Regions from separate parts of the Homo sapiens genome. Here region 2 is linked to region 1. Evidence: promoter capture Hi-C in human tissues and cell types (Jung and others, 2019). All regions are on one chromosome and are shown on one strand. Each heading gives the region's core, a stretch centred on a gene start or on the middle of the fragment in contact. The rest is flanking DNA. Distances are from core to core; before and after follow the strand shown. Region 1 holds the start of HCAR3 (hydroxycarboxylic acid receptor 3). Region 2 overlaps MPHOSPH9 (M-phase phosphoprotein 9).

Region 1 (4,928 bases), core at 268-2,767:
TCACTCTAAGTTTAATTTTACAAAAATGGGGGCTTTAAAAATATCACATACTTAGTGGGGGAGGTTTTGCGTGTGTGGAGACAGAGTGCACAGGACCGTCCGTACTTTCTGCTCAATTTTGCTGTGAATCTAAAACTGCCCTAAAAAATAAAGTTCATTAAAAAAAAAAAATCACGGCCAGGCGCAGTGGCTCACGCCTGTAATCACAGCACTTTGGGAGACCGAGGCGGGTGGATCACAAGGTCAGGAGTTCGAGACCAGCCTGGCCAACACAGTGAAACCTCGTCTTTACTAAAAATACAAAAAATTAGCTGGGCGTGGTGGCGCACGCCTGTAGTCCCAGATACTCAGGAGGCTGAGGCAGAAGAATTGCTTGAACCTGGGAGGCGGAGGTTGCAGTGAGCTGAGATTGTTCCACCGTTCTCCAGCCTGGGTGACAGAGTGAGACTCTGTCTCAAAAAAAAAAAATCACATCCTAAGGTCCCAAGGACATAAAACAAGTTAGAGACCTCATCCAGTTTTTTGTTTGTTTCAGGGACCTGCAACCAACTTTCTTACTGACCAGTTTCCTGGGCTGTCTAGAACAGACAGCTTATGGGGTACTAACCCCATGCTCTATCCTAAGGTACCCCTCTTCATGCAGAGCGACACAGAAAAACAAATTTGTAGCACAAAGTACACCCGATTTGCTACAGCTTACAACTAGCCTCATGAATCCTTTTCTCATTAATTCAAAGTTTGCAAAAAAAAGAAATCACATACTTAAATCACTTGAGCACAGAAGCATATCAAAATCTAATATAAACAAACAAAAAACCCAACTTATTTTAACATGCCACTGAAACTGGGCTCAAGTTTTCAAACATCTTATGAAATATTACACTCTCCAGCAGGCTTTTTTTTTTTTCCTAACTGGAGATGAATGGCAGAGTTCTGATATGGAAAAGCACTCCATGTTTGTACAGAAAGGTAGCATAGGAAAAGTGGTCAAATTCAACCAGTCTGTCCTCATCAAACAGGCAACTACTGTCTTCTCAGCATTTCCAAAAGAAATCATATGCCTGCTACTGTTTATGTCATATGCCTGTTAATTTTTCATGCTAATTCTTAGTGTTTCTGGAAAACCTCACTGTTTGGCACCAAAAATTATTATTGCTATTGTTGTTGTTTTGTTAATTATGTCAGCCAAGCAGATGACGGTGAATTAATTCTGCAACGTTGAGTACTCAGTTGGCATACAAGCACCCAGCCTTCCAAAGGGATGTCCTTCATGTTTCACTGATTTTCGAATGACAGTCAGCTTGCCTAAACTTATCCTTTACATTTAAGACATTTGGTGGGTTCCTGTATGCCCAGGGGATTTTTATTATTTGTTTATGCAAACAGCAGGTTGCATAAGAGCCTTGCTGGCTTTTTTTTTTTTTTTTTTAGAGATTTCGTAGTTTCCTGATAACCATTCAGTCATCTATTTCAACACCCTGACATGACATAAAGGCAGGCACGGAACCACACGTTCACCATACAGACACACGCCACTTTGCTGGAGCATTCACTAGGCGAGGCGCTCCATCGGACTCACTAGCTGCACTCATGAATCGGCACCATCTGCAGGATCACTTTCTGGAAATAGACAAGAAGAACTGCTGTGTGTTCCGAGATGACTTCATTGCCAAGGTGTTGCCGCCGGTGTTGGGGCTGGAGTTTATCTTTGGGCTTCTGGGCAATGGCCTTGCCCTGTGGATTTTCTGTTTCCACCTCAAGTCCTGGAAATCCAGCCGGATTTTCCTGTTCAACCTGGCAGTAGCTGACTTTCTACTGATCATCTGCCTGCCGTTCGTGATGGACTACTATGTGCGGCGTTCAGACTGGAAGTTTGGGGACATCCCTTGCCGGCTGGTGCTCTTCATGTTTGCCATGAACCGCCAGGGCAGCATCATATTCCTCACGGTGGTGGCGGTAGACAGGTATTTCCGGGTGGTCCATCCCCACCACGCCCTGAACAAGATCTCCAATTGGACAGCAGCCATCATCTCTTGCCTTCTGTGGGGCATCACTGTTGGCCTAACAGTCCACCTCCTGAAGAAGAAGTTGCTGATCCAGAATGGCACTGCAAATGTGTGCATCAGCTTCAGCATCTGCCATACCTTCCGGTGGCACGAAGCTATGTTCCTCCTGGAGTTCTTCCTGCCCCTGGGCATCATCCTGTTCTGCTCAGCCAGAATTATCTGGAGCCTGCGGCAGAGACAAATGGACCGGCATGCCAAGATCAAGAGAGCCATCACCTTCATCATGGTGGTGGCCATCGTCTTTGTCATCTGCTTCCTTCCCAGCGTGGTTGTGCGGATCCACATCTTCTGGCTCCTGCACACTTCGGGCACGCAGAATTGTGAAGTGTACCGCTCGGTGGACCTGGCGTTCTTTATCACTCTCAGCTTCACCTACATGAACAGCATGCTGGACCCCGTGGTGTACTACTTCTCCAGCCCATCCTTTCCCAACTTCTTCTCCACTTTGATCAACCGCTGCCTCCAGAGGAAGATAACAGGTGAGCCAGATAATAACCGCAGCACGAGCGTCGAGCTCACAGGGGACCCCAACAAAACCAGAGGCGCTCCAGAGGCGTTAATCGCCAACTCCGGTGAGCCATGGAGCCCCTCTTATCTGGGCCCAACCTCAAATAACCATTCCAAGAAGGGACATTGTCACCAAGAACCAGCATCTCTGGAGAAACAGTTGGGCTGTTGCATCGAGTAATGTCACTGGACTCGGCCTAAGATTTCCTGGAACTTCCAGATTCAGAGAATCTGATTTAGGGAAACTGTGGCAGATGAGTGGGAGACTGGTTGCAAGGTGTGACCGCAGGAATCCTGGAGGAACAGAGAGTAAAGCTTCTAGGCATCTGAAACTTGCTTCATCTCTGACGCTCGCAGGACTGAAGATGGGCAAATTGTAGGCGTTTCTGCTGAGCAGAGTTGGAGCCAGAGATCTACTTGTGACTTGTTGGCCTTCTTCCCACATCTGCCTCAGACTGGAGGGGGCTCAGCTCCTGGGGTGATATCTAGCCTGCTTGTGAGCTCTAGCAGGGATAAGGAGAGCTGAGATTGGAGGGAATTGTGTTGTTCCTGGAGGAAGCCCAGGCATCATTAAACAAGCCAGTAGGTCACCTGGCTTCCGTGGACCAATTCATCTTTCAGACAATCTTTAGCAGAAATGGACTCAGGGAAGAGACTCACATGCTTTGGTTAGTATCTGTGTTTCCGGTGGGTGTAATAGGGGATTAGCCCCAGAAGGGACTGAGCTAAACAGTGTTATTATGGGAAAGGAAATGGCATTGCTGCTTTCAACCAGCGACTAATGCAATCCATTCCTCTCTTGTTTATAGTAATCTAAGGGTTGAACAGTTAAAACGGCTTCAGGATAGAAAGCTGTTTCCCACCTGTTTGCTTTTACCATTAAAAGGGAAACGTGCCTCTGCCCCACGGGTAGAGGGGTGCACGTTCCTCCTGGTTCCTTCGCTTGTGTTTCTGTACTTACCAAAAATCTACCATTTCAATAAATTTTGATAGGAGACAGTCTGGCGTTGCTATATCTGGGTTATGGTTCACAGAAATGGACTTCTTACTTAAGCAGAGACCTTTATGGGTTGTTAACTTTGTCCTGGTAGAAAACTACTCCACACTGCAAAGTAAGAAAGAGACACAGACACTGAGCTACATCATGAAACAACTAAGCAGAAATTACACCTGTGTCTAAACAAAGATAGAAAGAGCTGGGATTAAAAATAATTTGGAAGGATAGTACAGATAGGATTGCAAGAGCACTTACATTTTATTAGAGTTTGGTGAATATTGCTCTTCATATTTGTGCATTAAAAAGGGAATCAAGGCCAGGTGCAATGGTTCATGCCTGTAATCCCAGCACTTTGGGGGAGCCAAGGCGGGCAGATCACCTGAAGTAAGGAGTTTGAGACCAGCCTGGACAAAATGGTGAAACCCCACTTCTACTAAAAATACAAGAAAAATTAGCCAGGCATGGTGGCGGCCGCTTGTAGTCCCAGCTACTGGGAAGGCTGGGAGAAGAAGAATTGCTTGAACCCGGGAGGCGGAGGTTGCAGTGAGCCGAGGTGGTGTGCCTGCACTCCAGCCTGGGGGACAGAGCAAGACTTCATCTCAAATAATAATAATAAATAATATAAAAAGGGAATCAAGCCAGGCAGATATTTTTCCATAGGAGGGGGAAGAGCGAGCTTCCTATGGAATGGTTTCAGTTCCCAATTCGGAGAAGGAAAGGAGATGTACTGGTTTGAGTCTGTGATCAGTCCAAGTTTCTGTTACGCTTTCATTTCTAACTCTGTCAGTCCTTGATTATTTGGCAAGACGAGGCTTGCTTCAACCTCCTGACATGAACACAGATAAGGAATTTAGAGACAGGCTCCCAGCTCTGGGTGAATGACAGTAAATGAAGAAAGGTGGATGCTCTGGAATTACCTCTGTGCTTTCAGAGCAGTTGGCTTGTCTGTATCACCAAGCAATGTACAGGTAAAAAGCCAAAAGCAAGGATCACCTTAAAGAGGAAGAGATGTCAGGGATGAGCTCAGAGGAAAATAGGGATTCCCCAGCCTCGGAGGCATGAGTCAGTGGGGAGCCTCGTTGTGAAACGCGGATTCGTTCAAGGGATGAGGTGGTTTGGGGTGTTTGGACCTCCACAGCTCACATTCATTCACTGATTCAGGCATTCCATCAGTTCTTTGTTTTTTTTTTTTTTTTGAGACCGAGTCTCACTCTGTCATCTAGGCTGGAGTGCAGTGGTGTGATCTGGGTTCACTGCAGCCTCTGCCTCCTGGGTTCAAGTGATTCTCCTACCTCAGCCTCCCCAGTAGCTGGGATTACAGGTGTGCACCACCATGCCTGGCTAATTTTTGTATTTTT
Region 2 (5,694 bases), core at 1,670-4,169, 510 kb before region 1:
GCTAACATGGTGAAGCCTCGTCTCTACTAAAAATACAAAAATTAGCCAGGTGTGGTGGCACGCGCCTGTAGTCCCAGCTACTCAGGAGGCTGAGGCAGGAGAATTGCTGGAACCTGGGAGGCAGAGGTTGCAATGAGCCAAGATTGCGCCACTGCACTCCAGCCTGGGCGACAGAGCGACACTCTGTCTCAAAAAAAAAAAAAAAAAATGTTCGGGGACAGATGTTTAAGTCAGGAATAGGTTTGGTCTTTTCATGTTTCTCATTTCTCTCAGAGATATGTACTTTTGCATGGAAAGCATTCTGAAAAAGAACTTGTTTTGCTTGTTTTACTTTCCTTTATACTTTTTTGTTTGTTTTTGGTAAATTACAAGCATATCTTTAACATTTAGTTGCCTAAATATTATTTCTACATTTTTAAATGATTGGGACAATTGATGTTTTATGTTGCAGAAATACTTCACCAATGTGGGAAGTAGCAGTTAAAGTTGAGTATTAGGAAGTTAAGACAATAACAGACTCTAAGTAGACAAAATAGTGGACTAAATAGATGTTATCAAAGTGTGTTTTATGCATTTTATTAATTTTTTAAAATGCATTTTATTTTTAAGCTATCCTGTGATTGGTTTTTTATTTTTTAATGGTCTTAACACAGATCATGGTTTGTTTTTCATCAGAGCCTGTTTACTTTCAATTTGCACATAGTCTGACAAGCTTGGTTATTGGGTTTCTAAATTTATAGTAGTGTAGAAACAGCAAAGAGGCAAGGACTGTAAGAGAGGAGAGCATCTATAAAGAGCGGGTACAAGGAAGGAAAACAGCGGTTTTGGGGCCTTACTGGTAAAGGGGCAAGGAGCTTTAAACACGGTAGGTCTTGAAGAAATTGTGTATTATAAATAAATACATTACTTTAAAAGTTGTTAATTCTCTGCCCTTTTCAGGAGGAATTTAAGGCAGCTTACATGGGTATATAAAACAATGGGGGTGGGGAGTTGTAAAAAACAAAGGAATATGTGAAATAAAACGAGAAAAGGAAATTTTAAAAGGCACAGGAAATGGTCCTACAGTAATCTGTATGCACTTGCAGAAAGTTGGCCACGCATTTTGGTTCTTGTATTACTTGGTGGTCCCTTTAAAGTACACTTCTAGAAGATATTCCTGTTAGAACAGTGTTTGATTTGGCTGGAGGAAGCTAACTGTGCCTTGCTAGTGAAAATTAGGCAATTAAACTTGTCTTCCTTTTCATTGTGACTGGCAGTTAAATTGGCCACATTTAAACTTGATTATTACAGCTATGTAAAATCCTTTACTGATAACATATATTCTTTCCTTTGAATTTTTTTTTTTGACGGAGTCTTGCTCTGTCACTAGGCTGGGGTGCAGTGGTGCCATCTCAGCTCATTGCGATCTCCGTGTCCTGGGTTCAAGGGATTCCCCTGCCTCAGCCTCCTGATTGGCTGGGACTACAGGCACGCACTACCACACCCGGCTAATTTTTTGTATTTTAGTAGAGATGGTGTTTCACCATGTTGGCCAGGACAGTCTTGATCTCCTGACCTGGTGATCCGCCCGCCTTGGCCTCCCAAAGTGCTGGGATTACAGGCGTGAGCCACTGCGCCTGGCCTCCTTTGAATTTTTAGTAATATTTTCACTGGTCCTAACTATTATTTTATTGTTATTTTTATTTATTTTTTTAAACAAATTATTTGTGAAAGAAAGCAGGATATCAAGCAGTAAATAAATTAAAATGATCTTTTGGTGACTAGATTTTAAGTACATTTTAATGTCCTGAAATATATTGTGTGTTTATAAAACAAATCCGAAATAACTTACCTGAAGTTTGGAAAAGCAGTACTCCTGGAAAAACTCAGTGCTGTTTTACACACTGAGTAGGCTAAATAAGTCCTGAATATTTGCTGCTGATTTGCTTGGCACAACTTTTATGCAGAGATAGTGCAGAGATAAGCATCAGCTTATCGTACCAAATTAAGGGTGTCCAGTGAACAAGATTTGACTGTCATTTGGGGCAGTGGGGAAAGAATCCCCACTGCACAATGAAGGGCTGTTCTGAAAGTTGGGGGAAATAATCCTCTGGAATAGCTGAGATCAGAGAAGCTGGAAATTAATCTTATTGTTTAGCACAGACTTTTTCTATTTTCTGCCGATCCTTTGGAGTGTTCTCTCACTTCTGGAGAAGGTCTTCTTGTTGTGTTCTTAAAAAGAGTACAGTGCGGTCTTTTTACTGGCCGTTTCCTTTTGTGGAGCAACTTGTGATCAGATTTTGAACAAATGAGGTGCCATTAGAAGGATTAAATGTCAGTGGTTTTGTACTGCTCTGCTAAATCTTGAACTGCTGAATTATTCAACACTTTGATAGAATGAAGAAAACCATTTGAATTATTTATGTTTCAACAGAAGTAGTCCCCACCTTAGTACAAATGGGGTATCCTCTTTCTCAGGGAAGACCAGACCATCTGTAATTCAAGGTACAGTTGAAGTCCTAACTTCTTTAATGCAAGAGCTACAAAACAGTGGAAAGACTGATTCGGAACTTTGGAAAAACTGTGAGGTATCTAATTTTGTTTTATTTTTGGAATTTTAAAATAATTATGTTAAAACATACCTCTACTAAACTCTAAATTATTAGAAATTTATGTCCTGAAGAGCATGACACTTTTAAGTTAATGCTAAAGTGGTCAAGTATATTAATTTGGGAATGATATTGAATGAATGGGAAAAAGGTGATCAAAAGTATTTTTTAACAATATATTACTGATTAGACATACTAATTTGTATATTAAATATGAACTAAAACATTGTCTTGGTTCAGAGACCTGAGAATCCCAAAATTATTAAAATTGTTACTAATTGTAATGTTGTCAGTAACTTATATGGAATTGTCATCATTTTGAAAAACCTAAATCCACTTTGAAATATTTTCAATGTTCTAATTATAAATTGAAGCTTCTATTTAGTACCTTACCATATTCAGCTGTGATACATTGCATTATATTGTTTTCAGATCAGTGGTTCTTTCTTTGGTTCATAGGTTAAATTGTGATATAAAAATGTAACAGTTAAAAGAATACTTACATGGCCGAGCACAGTGGCTCACGCCTGTAATCCCAGCACTTTAGGCGGCCAAGGTGGGAGGTTTGGTTGAGGCCAGGAGTTTGAGACTAGCCTGGGCAAGATAGCGAGACCCTGTCTCTACAAATATAAATACATAAATAAATTAGCTGGTCATGGTGGCACGGTGTCTGTAGTCCTAGCTACTTGGGAGGCTGATGTGGGAGGATCACTTCAACCCAGGAAGTCAGGGTTGCAGTGAGCTATGATCACAGCACTACACTCCAGCCTGGGTGACAGACTGAGACCCTGTCTCTCTCTATATATAAAAAAAGAGAACCTGTAATCCCAGCACTTGAGGCAGAGGTGGATAGCTTGTGCCCAGAGTTTGTGACCTGCTTGGGCAACATAGCAAGACCCCCTCAGTAAAAAAAAAAAAAAGTATATATAAATTTTATTTCATAGGATAATGCTCAAGATAGACTTTCCTAAGGCTGGATTTGATAGTTTTTTATAGAAATGTTTAAACCATTATTAATTCTTAGAAAGCACTAGATCTTGTTTTAAACGTTAATTGTACTTTTAGAAGCATAATTTGTGTTATTTTTCAGAATGTAGAGTAAGCGAAATGAAAGATTACCTGGTTTAAGAATTCGATAGCAGCAACTGCTAAGTGTAATTATTTATATCCATTATCCATAATTATTGAAATTATAAAAAAGTATTATTATATGCTTAAAAAATTGAGTTTTCAGTTTTTATACTTTATGCTTGTTTGCATATAATAATCAGTATGCACTAACGTGAAAGACCTTTAAAAATGCCCATGCAAATGCAATTAAAAATGGAATGTTTTATTAAGTATATTAAATGCTTCCCTTAATGTATCTACTCATAAGCTTTTTGTTTATTTGTTTGTTTGTTTTTGAGACAGAGTCTTGCTCTGTTGCCCAGGCTGGAGTGCTATGGTGCGATCTCGGCTCACTGCCACCACTGCCTCCCAGGTTCAAGTGATTCTCCTGCCTCAGTCTCCCGAGTAGCTGAGATCACAGGCGAGCGCCACCATGCCCAGCTAATTCTTGTATTTTTAGTAGAGAAGGGGTTTAGCCATGTTGGCCAGGCTGGTCTCGAACTCCTGACCTCAGGTAATCTGCCTGATTTGGCTTCCCAAAGTGCTGGGATTACAGGCATGAGCCACCGTGGCTAGCCCTTATTAGCTTTTGATAACTGAATTAACATGCTTTAGGACAAAGGAGGCATTGCCACAATGTATTTTAACTTCTGGAAAATTTGTGTTTAACTAGAAATTGTTACTTTTGATAATTAGAAATCAACCTTTTTTTTTTGACATTAGCATCTTAAGTCAGAATCAGAATATATTCCCTGCCCCACCTCTCCTCTCCCCTCCCTCCCACCCCCTCCCTCCCTCCCTTCCTTTCTTCCTTCCTTCCTTTTCTTTGTTTCTTTTTCTCCTCTTTCATTCTCTCTCTTTTCTTTCTTTCTTTTTTTTTTTTTTTTTGAAATAGGGTCTCATTCTGTCATCCAGGCTGGAGTACAGTGGCACAATCTCTGTTCACTGTACCTTCAACCTCTTGGGCTCAAGCCATCCTCCCACCTCAGCTTCCCAAGTAGCTGGGACTACAGGTGCACACCACCATGCCCAGCTAATTTTTGCATTTTTTGTTGAGACAAGGTTTTGCTATGTTGCCCAGGTTAGTCTTGAACTCATGAACTCAAATGATCCACCCACCTTGGCCTCCCAAACTGCTAGAATTACAGGCATGAGCCGCTGTGCCCAGCCTCTGAGCTCTGTTTTTATAACAGCTTTCAAAATAACATCAATTTATATTATCCTGAAATGAAATTCATAGGTAATATAACCTACCTTTACCCGCTTTAAAAAATCAATATACTATCCTAAATGTGACATAAAGGAGAAATAAAAAATTTACAGTAAAATAACATGTATTTGGATATATCCATGTCAGGCACATGTTCATTAGAAGACATAATGAAGTAGTCATGTTTACCTGTATGTACTCACTGTGAATTCAGCAGCTGAACACAGATCAATATAGCTATGGTGTGTTGATGATCCAGGTATTGTGTACAGCACCTCCACTGGTGACATGCTTTTCTGAAAGGGTGACCAACTTCTCATGAGATTTTGAAACTTAAGTTTGTTTTGATGTTATGAATACTGTGCGAAATATTTATTGTTTTATAACATAAAATGGACACAGGACAATTCTTCATCATGGGGGACTGCCCTATGATCCGCATGCCTGGACCCTGCCCACTAAATGCCAGTGATGTCCCCCCAGCTTTGTCATGACCGTGACCTCACAGATTTCCAACATGGAGTTCCTTCCCCATTGAGATCACTGCATCATATTTAAATTTAAAACTTAGGCCTGTAATCCCAGCACTTTGGGAGACCGAGGCGGGTGGATCACTTGAGGTCAGGAGTTCGAGAACAGCCTGGCCAACATGGTGAAACCATGTCTCTACTAAAAAATATGAAAATTCGGCTGGGTGCAGTGGCTCACGCCTGTAATCCCAGCACTTTGGGAGGCCGAGGCAGGCGGATCATGAGGTCAGGAGATTGAGACCATCCTGGCTAACAT

What was found. The method cuts DNA at HindIII sites, captures the fragments that hold promoters and counts their contacts. A contact is called where the count stands out against the background at its distance.
Region 2: a fragment that was not itself captured here is called in contact with the fragment with the promoter of HCAR3 in region 1 in 1 of the 25 tissues and cell types used here (mesenchymal stem cells).

Annotation. Positions count from the first base shown.
Region 1 is chr12:122,713,400-122,718,327 of GRCh38, reverse strand. It overlaps HCAR3 (hydroxycarboxylic acid receptor 3), which reads left to right and starts at 1,517. Exons shown (of 1, transcript NM_006018.3): 1 at 1,517-3,572. The coding sequence starts at 1,591. The coding sequence ends at 2,754. The HindIII fragment of the contact is 11,637 bases long and covers 1-4,928 here.
Region 2 is chr12:123,224,336-123,230,029 of GRCh38, reverse strand. It overlaps MPHOSPH9 (M-phase phosphoprotein 9), which reads left to right. Exons shown (of 24, transcript NM_022782.4): 3 at 2,414-2,567. Among named protein-coding and RNA genes, the nearest start is that of MPHOSPH9, 6.0 kb to the left of the region's middle. The HindIII fragment of the contact is 6,998 bases long and covers 1-5,694 here.